2 separate regions of the Homo sapiens genome follow, and region 2 is linked to region 1. The links are contacts of gene promoters, found by promoter capture Hi-C in blood cells and fetal thymus (Javierre and others, 2016). All regions are on one chromosome and are shown on one strand. Each heading gives the region's core, a stretch centred on a gene start or on the middle of the fragment in contact. The rest is flanking DNA. Distances are from core to core; before and after follow the strand shown. Region 1 holds the start of KCNH1-IT1 (KCNH1 intronic transcript 1). Region 2 overlaps HHAT (hedgehog acyltransferase).

Evidence for each region. Contacts are between HindIII fragments. The CHiCAGO score rates a contact against its expected background, and 5 or more counts as called.
Region 2: a fragment that was not itself captured here is called in contact with the fragment with the promoter of KCNH1-IT1 in region 1 in 2 of 17 cell types (megakaryocytes and erythroblasts); the score reaches 6.2 in megakaryocytes.

Annotation. Positions count from the first base shown.
Region 1 is chr1:211,130,889-211,137,841 of GRCh38, reverse strand. It overlaps KCNH1-IT1 (KCNH1 intronic transcript 1), which reads left to right and starts at 4,468. Exons shown (of 2, transcript NR_046784.1): 1 at 4,468-4,654; 2 at 4,816-5,563. It overlaps KCNH1 (potassium voltage-gated channel subfamily H member 1), which reads left to right and starts at 3,694. Exons shown (of 11, transcript NM_172362.3): 1 at 3,694-3,975. The coding sequence starts at 3,897. RefSeq lists silencers at 3,513-3,792, 4,287-4,477, 5,704-5,904. The HindIII fragment of the contact is 10,582 bases long and covers 1-6,953 here.
Region 2 is chr1:210,620,844-210,627,796 of GRCh38, reverse strand. It overlaps HHAT (hedgehog acyltransferase), which reads right to left. Exons shown (of 12, transcript NM_018194.6): 11 at 4,127-4,271. Among named protein-coding and RNA genes, the nearest start is that of HHAT, 300 kb to the right of the region's middle. The HindIII fragment of the contact is 395 bases long and covers 2,917-3,311 here.

The sequences.
Region 1 (6,953 bases), core at 3,219-5,718:
TAGCAGGGAATCTTTTTTTTTTTCAATGGATATAGTCTGCCCAACATTCTTCCTATAAGATTATTCAAATAGAAGTTTTGTTAACAGAAATCACATATAATAAGTCAGTCAGTCATTGGGCTATAGAAGCTGAAATTTCTCATGCTGCAAATTCCTCCACTTTTAGATATTTAGATATTTCACTCCTGGTGGCTGAGTAGTGAAGTCGCCTCTATGTTCAATTTCTCCTCCGCTTAAGTTGCTAATGACGATGCATCCATGGCCTGCCCCTTCCAGCTCGCAGACCTAGGACTCACAGGCAACTTTCCTATGTTAGAGAGGTTCCTGGCTTTCTAAAATCTGTCACCCACACCATGTGGTCTTAATGGAAGGAAAAATGAAGTTCCTGTCTTTATATGATAACATTTGCCCCTTCTGATGTGTGGCATTGTCATCCTCTTCATTTGATAGACTTGTTGTTGTTGTTGGGAGAGATTTTTCTGTCATCTCCTGGACTCTTTTCCCAGCCAATCTGCAGATCACCATCTCCATATTCTCCCTATAGCATTATGCCTTCATCACTATCTATTACTTTTGTGAACTCACTAATTACAGTGTAGCTTAATAGCATTTATAAGAACAAAAATTGTTATAGTGTGTCTTTGTTTCAAGGAGCTCACAATCTACGGTGTGATACAGACATAAACACATCTTATAGCTAAGGGGTAAACAAAATGCTGAGGGATACAGGAGGAAAGAAGCCTAGAAATAGTAGACTCACATTTTAGAATTTATTTCAGACTCTGTATCTGAACTCTGTATCCCTGCAGAAAATGGGCTACATTTTCTGCATGGAAGGATAGAGGCAGTTGAATTGGAACTCTGGTCACAGTTATTTAAAGTTGTCCCTTTAAATGAAGGAGTGGCTTTGTCTGTTATGCAAAAATATAAGCGTTCTCAATTGGTTTGCCATGGTACATTGGTATATTGTGAATCCTTTAGAAATCTGTTACCAAGTTTTGACAAATCTGTAAGATTAAAGTTTACTCTAACTGAGATTCCCATATTACAGAGGTAGATCTCAGACAGAACTTTAAGTTGAGCAGGTGCTGGAACTGAATGTCAAGGAGGGAACAAAAGGTGGCAAGTAAAAGGTAAGAAGCACAGTATCCCGTCAACTAGCACCAAGAAAGAGGGAGTGTTTACTGGAATATTGAGAATGTGGCTGTGGACAGGGCAGAACATGATTTTATTCCTGCAGTCAGATGTGTTGTGAGTGAACCAAGGGAATGGGGGAAAAACTGGATGTACCTCCACAGACACCATGAGACACTCACATTGTGATGAAAGACTGCTGACTTTTTAGCAATTTAATTCTTAAATATTTATTTTATTTAAAAATCCATGAACACCTCCAGCTTTTTTTTTTTTTTTTATGGCAAAACAGTTCATTGTAGCTGTTCACGTAGTAATTATCTTCCTCTTGCATCCCCAGGTAATGACTGTGATCTTGACCTAAAAGCCACCTTAGTTAGTTTGAATAAGGAAGACCTTGAAAGGAAAGGTAACTGACCAGAAACACTCTTAAGAAGCACACAATGAAGAAATGATCATTTCTAAGCAAGTACTTAAAGTGCCATAACACAGTATAACAGTGCTTTTATAAGCATCCAGTCTTATTTAAGCAAAAAGACGTAAAATAATGTGATCGTGTTATGGCACACAATCTGGAGGTTTAAAACTTTAAAAAAAAGAACCACTTTGTAGTAGCACTATTTTGTTTTAGGTCTTTTAATTTCTTCAAGTGTGCCACCAAAAATTGTAGTATTCAAAAAGGTGCCAATACACACACACATACACACACACACAGAGTCCATGTTGAGATCCATTTCAGTAGTACATTTAAAATGGAAGACATCTTATTTCTTTTTCTCATCAGGTTGCCCACCAAGGCTTTAACATCTCTGATCTCAAACTAATATCATCTGTTTCCTTTTTTATCTAAGCCACAGAACATGAGAGCTCATTAAAACCTTAGAAATTTTATTAACTCTCTATGATAGTTTTCCCCTCCACATTATTTTCTTTATCTTCCTTTCACAAGCAGGATTATGAGGTTTCTTGATGGGTTTTTAATATTGTCATGAAAAATCTTCCCTTGGCATGTTTGTGCGATAACACAACTTTAAAAACCTTATTTAAATGAACTTATTCAAATGAAGTGGATAGGCACCAAACTGGCTCAGCTCAGCACCAAATACATTTCAGAATCAAGTTCTCTTCAACCAGTGTTATCTCATTTGTAATAGAACAAAGAACCACTAGACGGAGCTAGGGTTTAAGAAATCACTGTTCTAGACTAGGTAACAGGCGATGGGTAGAAGGCTATCTTAAGGAAAAAGTGTATCATTACTTGCATTTCAAATCCTATGACAGTCTTATCCAACTCTCTGCTAACAGCAATCTGTTTACTTTGTCTCTACACAAGACGAGATAAAGGGTGATATTCGTAATGGCCCAATTTATTTAGTCACTCCAATAATGACGTCTGACCTTGGCACAGCACTTTACAATTTAAGGTGCTGTCCCCATACATAATTCTTGCTTGATCTTCACAGCAACTCTGAGAGATTTCTGGGCAAGAATTAGTTCTTCTGTTTTTGAAATTAATTAACTGAGACAGGATGTCTTTGCAATACATTAGGATATGTCAGGATGGCTAACCCAGACAATTAATTTTCAGGGTTAGTTTTTTTTTCTCTTACATTTTTGTGTTGACTGTTGACTCAGTCTGAAACTAGTAAACTCTCCATTCATTTCTCCTGTGGGACATAGGCTTAGTCTCCCACCGCACCGACTGGGGATACATAGTAAAAAGGCAGGTACAGACTATGTGTGGGTCGAAATCCCCCAAAATAAGTGAACAAACGACCGTTGTCTTAGCCCCTGTCCAGAAACCTTGGGTGTATGTGGTTCTTCCGTATACCAGGGGTCAGCTGTAAAAACTAACTGTATCCTCTGCACTACAGACTACCCTTCAAGCCAAAGCCACGGTTGCTTAATTAATGCTGCCCCTCTCCTGAGCATTCGCCCTTAGAGACAAGTCCACCCCTTTGATGTTTGTCAGGCAGTTTGATACTGATCATACCAAACATCAGGAGCCTGCATTTGTGTCTACGGTAAAAACAACCCAAGACAACTCTTCTGAAGCTGAATCTGCCAGTCACTCTAAATCTGCACTATTGCAATACGACTTCATTAATTACTGCTCAAACACTGGCCTAGAATCAAGGTGGGGCAACTTTCACTAGTCAGGCTAACCTTACAGGAAGGCAAGAAGGTGTTCCCAGAGCCTCACAGGTCCCGGGGGCCCCGGCCTGAAACAGAGCAAAGGAAGAGAGTTACATCAGCACGCTCCCCTAAGACTTGTTGGGGGTGAATCCGCCCTGAAAGCTGCTCACAATGCCCTCCTCTCCACCCAGCCCATGGCACATCCTGAACACATTTCCCGGCTGAACCCAGAGGGTGGCGCTGCCGTCCCAGCCTTGGTCCACGGCCGCCCGCCACTTCCCTGCCTCTGCGGGAGCCCCCCAGCTTGGTCTCCCGCAGGCCGGCGGTGGGGCACGAGCCCGGTAGGGGGCGCCGCCGGCCCAGGCGCCGCTGCTCCCTCCGCCCACCCGGAGGCGGCTGCCGCTAGCCGAGGCCGGCGCGAGTGCACTGCGAGGCGGGCCGCAGGGAGGGAGGCGCGAAGAGGGCGCGAGGGTAGCAGCCAGAGGGAGCCGCCAGCCCTGCCTGCGGATCCCCGCCGGGCGCATGGGGCGCTTCGAGCCGGGACTGCGTGCGGGCCCCGAGGCCAGTTTCCTGCTGTCGTAAGAAGCCGCGCCAGGACGCCCGCCGGACCCCGAGCTGCTGGGAGGATGACCATGGCTGGGGGCAGGAGGGGACTAGTGGCCCCTCAAAACACGTTTCTGGAGAATATTGTTCGGCGGTCCAATGGTAAGAGGTGCATTCGGATTTCGATTACCCGGGCGTTTTATCCGTGCCTTTATTGCAGAACCTCTCGCCGCTCGGAGCCAGCAGATGCAGCAGAACCCGCGAGCTCTGCTAAGGAGCCGCGGCGCGGGCACCCAGGGCAGCCTCCCCGAGGCAGAGAAAGGTGGGCAGGGCGGGGCGGGGTCTGATGGGTCCCCATCCTAACAGGAGAGCTCTTCTGGGGACGCCTTTTGGGCCTTTCTAGCGCCCTCTCGGTCTTATCTCCAAGGATGCGTGACAGCTGCTGAGCAAAGTACTGGGAAAAGTGATGGAAAGCTGGCTGCAGCCGGAGCGGCAGCGCGCGCCCCATCGGCACTGCCCACCCTTCCGCGAAGGCTCTGGGGCTCCCGGGCTGCTCCCAGAGGCGCCGCCTCTCCCCAGGGAGAGCCAGCAGTAGAGACGGGCAACTCCAGGTCCCCGCTGCCTCAGAATGGGAGGATCCGGCTGCCTCCACCTTCCATCCCTGCAACTGAAAAGTCCGAGGTGTCGGGACGTGCTCTCGGCGGCCTGATTCCACCCCTTCACCCACCCACCACTTTCTAGGTGAAGTTAAGGCTCACCTTCGAAGTGAGGGGCAGATGGTTTTCCTGGCGTCAGGTGGGAAGTGGAGGGCACAGGTGCAGAGCGAACTAAATGGTCACAGGTACAAACCTGTTATATTTCCCCTCTTCCAAACCCACAACGGTTTTATGCCACCCTTAAGTGTTGCTCACCTATAAATTCCCAATCTCACCAAACCTATAAATAGATCCATTACCCAATAAACTGACAATCAGCACTCATCTGTTTCCTTGTGGCATTAAGATCGACGGTAGCATGAAGCCTTGAGAGGCGAGAGTCCTAGGAGCGGGGATGGAAAGGAAGAATTCCAAACGCCTTTCGGACTTAACAGAGGAGAGACCCCAACTAAGCACTTGCAGAGCGACTAGGAGTCCTGGCAGTTGGAAGGCGCAGCGCACGAGTTCATCAAATGGCTATATTGAAAGATAGCCAAGCATAAGATGCTCTTTGCAGACTCCTAGAGCCCCCACCCCACCCCTTCCAGAAACAGATGACATTCTTCTACCAGGGAGACATGAGGAGCTAACTTAGGAAATGGGTTTTAATAATGTGTAAATATCACGATTTCAGAGTCTAAGGAGCTTCTGTGTAAAATGATGAGCTTCTGTTTGGATTTAGTTAGGGATTCAGGGGAAGGGCATGAAAAGTGACTTATGCTACTAATAAACACTCTTTAATTAAACAGTGATTTAAGTTTATCTTATAATGAAACACATCAACTAGCATAGCAAATAATCACGTATTATTTAAGTACTTTCTTAGAAATGATCATTTCTTTATTGTGTGCCTCTTAAGAGTGTTTCTGGTCAGTCACCTTTCCTTTCAAGGTCTTCCTTATTCAAACTAAGGTGGCTTTTAGGTCAAGGTCACAGTCATTACCTGGGGATGCAAGGGGATGATAATTGCTATGTGAACAGCCACAATGAACTGTTTTGCCATAAAAAAGCTGGAGTTGTTCATTTATTTTTAAATAAAATAAGAGTTACTGTGCTATTATTGCTATTTTTATTGGACTATTAAGGGGTATGGAGACAATCTTGCAAATTTGGTTATCCCATTGTCAGTGACACCAACTTTCTCATAAATATCAATGACAATTCTATTTTTCAGTAAAGAGGCAGTGCCCTGTAAGTTAGAGGGGAAACCCAGTACCTAATGTATACTGTGTATGTTTTTGAGTGGAGGGAGCAGGAAGAGAAACTTACATGTAAAAGTCACAAGATGCCTTGGGTTTTAAGGGAACCTTAAGAATCTTGGAGCTGTGAAGGCAGAATACTGTCTATTTTAGTTGATCTTATTAGAGCCACTTTCCCTCTGTAATCATAGAATGTGAATAGAATAAGTCACTGGGAATATTTTTAGGATGGGCATTGTCATTTCAACACCAGTTTCAGCAGGTTGATTTCAATTAACCAATCAAATGAATAGCATCAAAAAAAATGAAGCATCTTGGGAGAGTTGGATGAATTTTTAAAATTATTATTTCAGAATAAATGGTTCTCATCTTGAAATATGGGACTCAATGTTTAAAAGGTGATCCCTTTTATAATATTTCCTGAACACAAATGGAAGAAAAAATGTGAACTCCTAGAAATATCACAATATCTGCATGCATTATATTATTTTACTGTGGTGGAAAAAGTCTATTTAAAGATATTGATTGTCTCATTCTAAAATCCATGAGCCCTTTTTTGGACATTACGGTATTAAAATAGCATTTTACCTTTGAATAGCAATATTTTATGATCATTTTATTAGATATTTTCTCCCAGTGGTCCTGTGCAGTATTAATGTTCCTCTTTTACAGATCAGAAAACTGAGTCCTAGGAATATTAAGTGGCTTATTCAAAGTGGCAGAGCAAACAATGCCTGAGGCTGGTATTCCTTAGAGGACATCTATCATATATCCTTCTCTCAGCATTATAATTTCTCCAGCTTTTATGACTTAGTCTGTGGAACTATTTTTATCATCCTTTAAAAACTTCTCATATGATAATGAATAATAGTACTGACTTCATTTTGGGTTATTTGAATATCTGATGCCCGGAATATCATAGAGCTGTGGGAAGAGACAGACCTTAAATATTATCTAGTCTGCCTCTCCTTCCCCATCATTGTATAAATAAGGAAATTGATGCAAGAGGCTTTCCTCAAATATTTAAGGGCAGAACTAATGAGGCCCCAAACCATTTGAGTCCAATGTCAGATTCTTTATGGTACACCATGCAAAAACCCTTTCCTCATGTTACCATTATATTCTCTCAAGAAGCATAATTTCCCAGTGGAGATTAAATAAAATGTTATAACAACAAGAACAACATCCATCTTGGCTAACAGCCACACTACCACATCTCAACAGAATAATAGGGCAAAGGAAAGGC
Region 2 (6,953 bases), core at 1,865-4,364, 510 kb after region 1:
ATATTCCTCAAGCAGCTTGAAGTAAACTTCAATATTAAAAATTTGGAGTTTTTTTTAAAGCAAAAACATAGATTCCTTATTTTCTGCTGAATAAACTGAACACTACTTCTTCAACCTCAGCAGCAGAGGTAACACTTCCTGACCAAAACTGTTTTGTGGATGACATATTACCAGAGCCCTAGGTTTGCCACTGAGCATTTCTATCCCTTGCCTTCAGACTCTGTCTTCCACTCTTTAGACAGCAGGGCAGGGGCACAACAGAAAGGGAAGGGTCTGGTTTTACAGCCTCATATCACCCATATGACCCACAGAGACCAGGACAGACATTTTCATGGAAATCACTAAAATAAACTTTGTAGTTTAGAGCAAGCAAATCTATGGCTAAATTCAAGTGAACTGGTGACAGGAAGATACCAATTTTAAGACAACTTTTCCAGGCGAATCATGAGATACTTCTAGGCACATCAGTGATGCCAGGAGAGGGCTCCCTGGGAAACAATGAGGTGTATCTTTTAAGACACATGTGTATCCACACCCCATTAGCTGTGAGGTGTGTGCAAATCTCCTCAATAATCCCTATCTCCTAGATACCCGTCTGCCCCTTCCTGCTCTTCCAGGACTCTGAGGTGAGACCTGTTAGAGGGATGTGGTGTCAGTGGTTCCTCCCTCTTGCTGCAGCAGGTCCCAACCCATCAAGGTGCAGAGGGAAGGGCCACCTTTCCCTTAAACCTGGAAATCTAGACACTGAGCTTAAATGCTCTCCATGCCTAAAGTCAGCGTTCTCACTCGCTTCACTCTATTTCCTCAGTGTGTAAAGATGGGCTCTGGAGCAACAGGAACTGATCATGTGTCCCAGGGAAGATGCCAAGACTACAAGGCTGTCAAAGGTGCACATTTGTCAACAACTCCATATACAGTTTGACAATCCCTTAACTAAACTTTTTGGGGTCAGATGAGTTTCGGAATTCAGATTTTTTTAACTTTAGAAAGCTCATATATGAACACCCCCAGCAGAGACTGAGGGAGCATCGTATAGACTCATTATTTTTTTTCACCAAAACATGAATATTCATATTAATCTTCTATCAAGTCAAATTAGTTATGAAATGAAATCCAGAGTTCTCCAGGATGGGAGATTGGGCACCATCTGGTTCACTTTCCTCCAAGAGATATCTAAACCCAATCCTTCAGGGACAAAAACCCACAGCAAGGAATAGACGAAGCGGCAACTGCCAAAACCCCAGCAGACATTCCCTGACTCAGGAGGCCCATGGGACAGACCAGCAGAGATGCAAACAGGCTCATTTGGATAATCACTGACATAGAAAAAGCCTTCTAAGCTGAGTTTCTCTGGCCTCAGAACCCAGAAGAGAGATGATTCCACAGAGCCCTCCACTTTTATAGAATCAGAGTTCCCAGGGCTGTGGCACCTGAGTCCAAGGAGGACACAAATAGTGCGTTCAGTCACAGACCATAGCTGGTCCCATGAGGCAGCAGCAGACCGGGTTTTCAGAGCCCAATCCCATGTGACTGAGGTTAACTCCATAGGATGTCAGGCAAGTCACACTTTGATCTTCCTGCCTTTCTCTCTGCCCCCTTCAATACCAGCATTCCCTGGGGTTTCTCCCACCTGTTCTCTTCTCATTCTACACAGCTCCGTGGTTAATTGTGTCTACTCCCCTGGCCTCACATACAATCTTTACGCCCTTGACCCCCACACATCTCAATCACTGGTCCCACCATCTTCTCCAACTCATATTTCCAACTGCCTCTTGGGCATTTCTGACCAGGCCCATGTGCCTCTCCTGCTGTGCCATAGACAGCTGGTGCACACTGATATCTGCATGCTTCCCTACACACCCCTGCCCTGTACTTGGGTTGGTCATATGACTGGCTCTGGCCAATGACATGTAAGCAGAAATGTCACATGTTTGAGCACCTGGTGCACCAGTCTCATGTTCTCTTCCCCTCCATGATGCCAGCACAAGACAGTGGAGAATCAAAACAAAGATTCTAGGTCCTGGAGTCACTGCTTAGAAAAAGCCACTGGATTTGTATTGAACTGTCAGAGAAACAAACTTCTATGGTGAGAAATTACTAAGATTTTGGAGTTTCACACAAAGCAGCCAGTGTTAATTTCCCTGATATGCCTGCCTTTTCTACCTAGCAAACTCCTAAATTATTACTTCAATTCAAATGCCACCTCTTCTGAAAAGCCCATCTTCTGTGGAAAGTCAGCTACTCTATCCTGTGACCTCCAGTAACTCACTCATACATCCAGCAGAGCAATTCCCTGAATCTACTGCACATTTTTGTGTGTTTGGCACTCACATTCGTGTGAGCTTCCTTTTTCATCTCTGTGTTCTCAGTGCCTCGCAAGTAGCAAACATCCAATGCATTTGATTTAGGGAAGCGAAAATCAGAGCCTCCTCATTATGTGACAAGCAAACCAAGTCCGCACTTTCCCCCCACCAAGTCACAATGTTCTTATCATTGTGCTAGGTTCTGTGAGAGGAGCCAAGAAAAGTAAAGGATGCTGTAACCCACCTTTATCTTTAGATCCATAATGCCCTATTATCTCTCATCTTTATTAAAGGACAGCTTTCGCTTAGAAAGTACGTGGTCTTTTCAGGAACTATCAGCTAAAACATCGCACAGAAAACAAGATCAAAGAGGGGTCTTTTAGTGACAAGATTAAAGTAGAACAGGACTCTCTCTTGGCCCTTTGAGCCTGGCTCACCCAAGGCTGCCACAGTTTAGGCCCATGGTCTGCCATTCTGGAATACTGCAGCTGTGTTGCTGTTATTTCTGGTGTGAAAAGAGCTGCAGCAAAAGCACCGCTGCCTCCTCAGGGACCCAGATGTGGAGATAATGGGCCAGCTGTGCAGAGTTATGTCATCACCACTTGGCAAAGCTTCCCAAAGCAAAAGCACAAGACTGTGTCACTGGGCAGGGAACAGAGCAGGGATCTTCTCTTTTAAGATGTAGCAAGTTGGCTATAGTAGTATGTACCATGAGTAGTTCCAAATCTCCCAATTCTCTTATAGATATGATGTAACTCAGTCCCAGCCCAAGGGAAATGGTGACCATAAATAAACAACGATCAATTATTAATAGAATGTTTTGACAACTCCCACATAGTAGCAGTTTACCTGCTGCAAGTATGGTTTTGCTTTGGATATTCAGATTATCTATTTAATGCACATTAAACATAAGGTTGGCCCCTAGTATTCACACAAAAATACCCACAACCAAGAGCTGTGGCAAACACAGATGCCATGCCCACAGCTTCAGGAGAGCACAAGGAAGCTTCTAGGGCAAATTCCTAGTAGGACGTTCAGAGCAATAAACAAAACAAGGTTAGATTTTGCAGTATATTGCAGGCTAGGACCCACAGACAGTAGGTGTCTTTGTTGTCTGTTGATTATAACAGAATATCTAAAACTGTATAATTTATAAAGAAATGGAATTTATTTCTTACAGTTACGGAAGCTGAGAAGTCCAAGGTCAAGGGGCTGCATCTGGTGAAGACCTTCTTGCTGGTGGGAACTCTCTGTAGAGTCCCCAGGTAGCACAGGGCATCACGTGATGAGGAGGCTGAGCATCCTATCTCAGGTCTTTCTTCCTCTTCTTGTAAAGTCACCAGTCCCACTTCCATAATAACCCATTAATCCATGAATGGGTTAATCCATTCATGCGGGCAGACCCCTCATGATCCAATCACCTCTTAAAGGCCTCATCTCTTAATAATGCCAATTGGGGATTAAGTTTCAACATGAGTTTTGAAGGGAATATTCAACCACAGCAGTAGGAAAGATTAAGAAATATCAAATAATTGGAAACATAGTGTAATGGAAGGGAATATACACTTTGGGAGAGTTGGAATAATACCTTTTGGTGTTAAACAAGTATCACATACAGGAGATATGGGGTACCTCAAAAACAGGGGACACTTAAAGTCATAGTCAAACTTAGGAAATTATTCCTGGCTGGTACTTTAGAGGTCACATGCCATGAACATAACAATGAATGACTTCCCCCAAATCCCATCCATCCCATGTATGATCCCATCCGCATACATGGAAAACAAGAAACTGACTGAAAACAGCACTGTCAAGCAACTTACCTTGTATGAAGATCCTATTCCAGTAGGTTTTCCCAACCTCATTGCCCCCAAGAAATACCAGGTTGGACAGGATCAGCATCGAGGTGGAACAAGAAGCAAGGGCAGCGTGGAATCGACGGCGAGCTTGTGGGGAGAAGTATCGGGCCTACGGGAAAAATGGCAAGAAAGCATCTCATGACAAGGGTGGAAAAAATGGGGCTAAGATACCATCCAGCTTTCTCTGTCACCAGCCCAGGACGCCTCCCCACAGAGCCCAAACCAGGTCATTATTTAAACAGCTCTCAAAACTTCAATTCCTGTCTGGGCGTGGCAGCTCATGCCTATAATCTCACACTTTGGGAGGCCAAGGTGGGAGGATCACTTGGGCCCAGGAGTTCAAGACCAGCCTAGGCAACATAGTGATATACCATCTCTACAAAAACAATTTAAAAATTAGCTGGGCATGGTGGCATATGACTGTAGTCCCAGCTACTCGGGAGGCTAAGGTGGGAGGATTGCTTCAGCCCGGGAGTTCGAGGCTGCAGTGAGCCATGATCACACCACAGGACTCCAAGTCTGGGTGACAGAACAAGAGCGTGTCTCGAAACAAAACAAAAGTGTACTCTTGCACCATGTTCATTCTACCCTAAGGAAAGAAGTGACATACCCCAAGTTGTTTCTTTGAGGTGGAACAAAATGCGAGGGCTTCCCTCTGACATGTGGAATACAAGCACTGAAGCCAGTTAGGATTTAGCAGCCCTCCCACCTCCACTTGCTTTCTGCATGTAAACCTACAGGTGCAAGAACTTCAAACTGCTGTCTGTGATAACTAGTATATATAGCTCCATGGAATTAGGTCAAGATCAGCATGATCCCCTGGGCCAGTTACACTGACCCTGGGAAGCCATCCAACCACCCCCTAAACCTGACATGCTATTAAGAGCAATCTCATAATAAGAGTGTAGGACAATGAGTGTGAGCCGAGCCTACTGCTGGAGTCAGAGCTCAGGCCCACACTTCACCCGCAGCACACGTCGGCACTGAGGATGAAGTGTATCGGCGTGCCTGAAATACTCAAGGCTGGAGGGGTGTTTTACAGCATCACAATAAAGAATTCCACTTGTCCTTCCTAGCTCTTTATTGCACTTCTCCTTTTAAGATTTTCCCAGGGATTTCATAAAGCAAACAAAGCCTTTATCCTGACTGTTCTGGGAGCCCCTCTGAGTGAGGTCGCTGTGCTGGAGTGTGCGAGCCCTATCAGCACATGCACGGGGACCACCCCAAGGGACCGTGTGTTCAGAATGAGAACCAGGTACAGCACAGCAGCGGGACATGCAGGGGCCCAGGGTATCTGATAAGCACCTCCGCCTAATCCACAGACACAGAGAAAGAGGGAGCAAAGGGTCTGGAGATATTTCCTGAATATCCTCCAGAAACCCACACATCTCTAGGGTCACGTGCACCCTAATTTCAGCTGCGTTCCAATTACAAACAGAACTCGGAATGACTCAATGACAGCAGCCGATGCAATTCATGACAGGCAAAAAGGACTAAATTGGAGGGCGAGTCTTCAGCAAGAGGCTTACTTATTATGCGGCCCTACTGTGAATCTCCTGTGACTGCTTTGGCATCATGGTCAGTGTCCTCTCCATCTAGAGAAATGAATTTCTGACTCCTCCTGTTCTCTCCTGCCAGCCCCAGGGTCTGTTCTTAACTCTCAGATCTGGCTGCTACCCTCTGTCACCCCATCTCCCCACCCACGGCTCTCTGCTCCAACATCACTGTGGAACGTGCTTTTACTGCTGCCAGACGCAAGTGTGGCCTGCTCACAGAGAAGCTGTGCAGTGGACAGTGAGATGTCTGCCCGATCATGGTTGTTCTGGAATGCTCTCCAGTGATGTAGGGTGTCTCTACTTAGAGGCCACCAGGCAAGATTACCTCTAGTCTTGCCCCTGCTCTAGGAGGCCACAGGCACGTACAAGAGGACACTGTCAGACAAGACCTGGTACGAGATAACTACATGGTGTGAAAACTGTTAATGAGAGAGAAATGGGGAAGGAGCAGGCTTATTATTCAGCACTCTTCACCTCTGAGAATAATGGGACATTAATCTACCACTTTCTGCATTCTAAAGCAGAGGAAGATATTTTCTGGGTATTACTGACTCAACTAGCAGTAACTAGGGAGGCAGGGTGAGAGGAAGTTGGGAGACAGAGGAAGATCCAAAATGGATTAAGAAAATATGAATTGTCTTAATTGACATAAATACGTCCAAGTAATTCTCTCCAGATACTGCGGTTACTAACAAGACATTTGATTCCTAAGGGATCCACTGAGTCTGACACTCCACCACTTCTGTTCTAACCCCATCAGTCTCCCCCAGCCTCACATCCTGAGAAGGGAACACAAAGGCCCTGTGTGATTTTTCCTTTGTTAACGTCAACTACCGAGAGTGCACATAGCTTGTTAAGCTAAGTGGCTCTTCTTTTGTAGGAAGTGATTACAAGTATTAAATAATCAACAGAGGTACTGAGAGAGGAAGACTCTCTTTGCCTGGGGCTGCTAAGCAGGACTGTGGAGCTGATACTTGGGGCAGGGTAAGGACTGGACACAGCAGGAGGAGGAGCTGAGGGCCAAGGGAGGTAAGAACAGACAGCGTGTATTGGAGGCATAGGACTCCTCTGTCCAGCCCTGAGGCCCCAGCTCCTACCGTGCTTCCTTTGATTCTGTGACTACCCCCATATTCTAAGCTACATGGTTCCATAAATTCCTATATCTACTTAGGAAAAAAAAAAAAAGTCAAAATCATACCAACTGTGAAGGAGCTGCTGATCTCAGAGATAGGAAG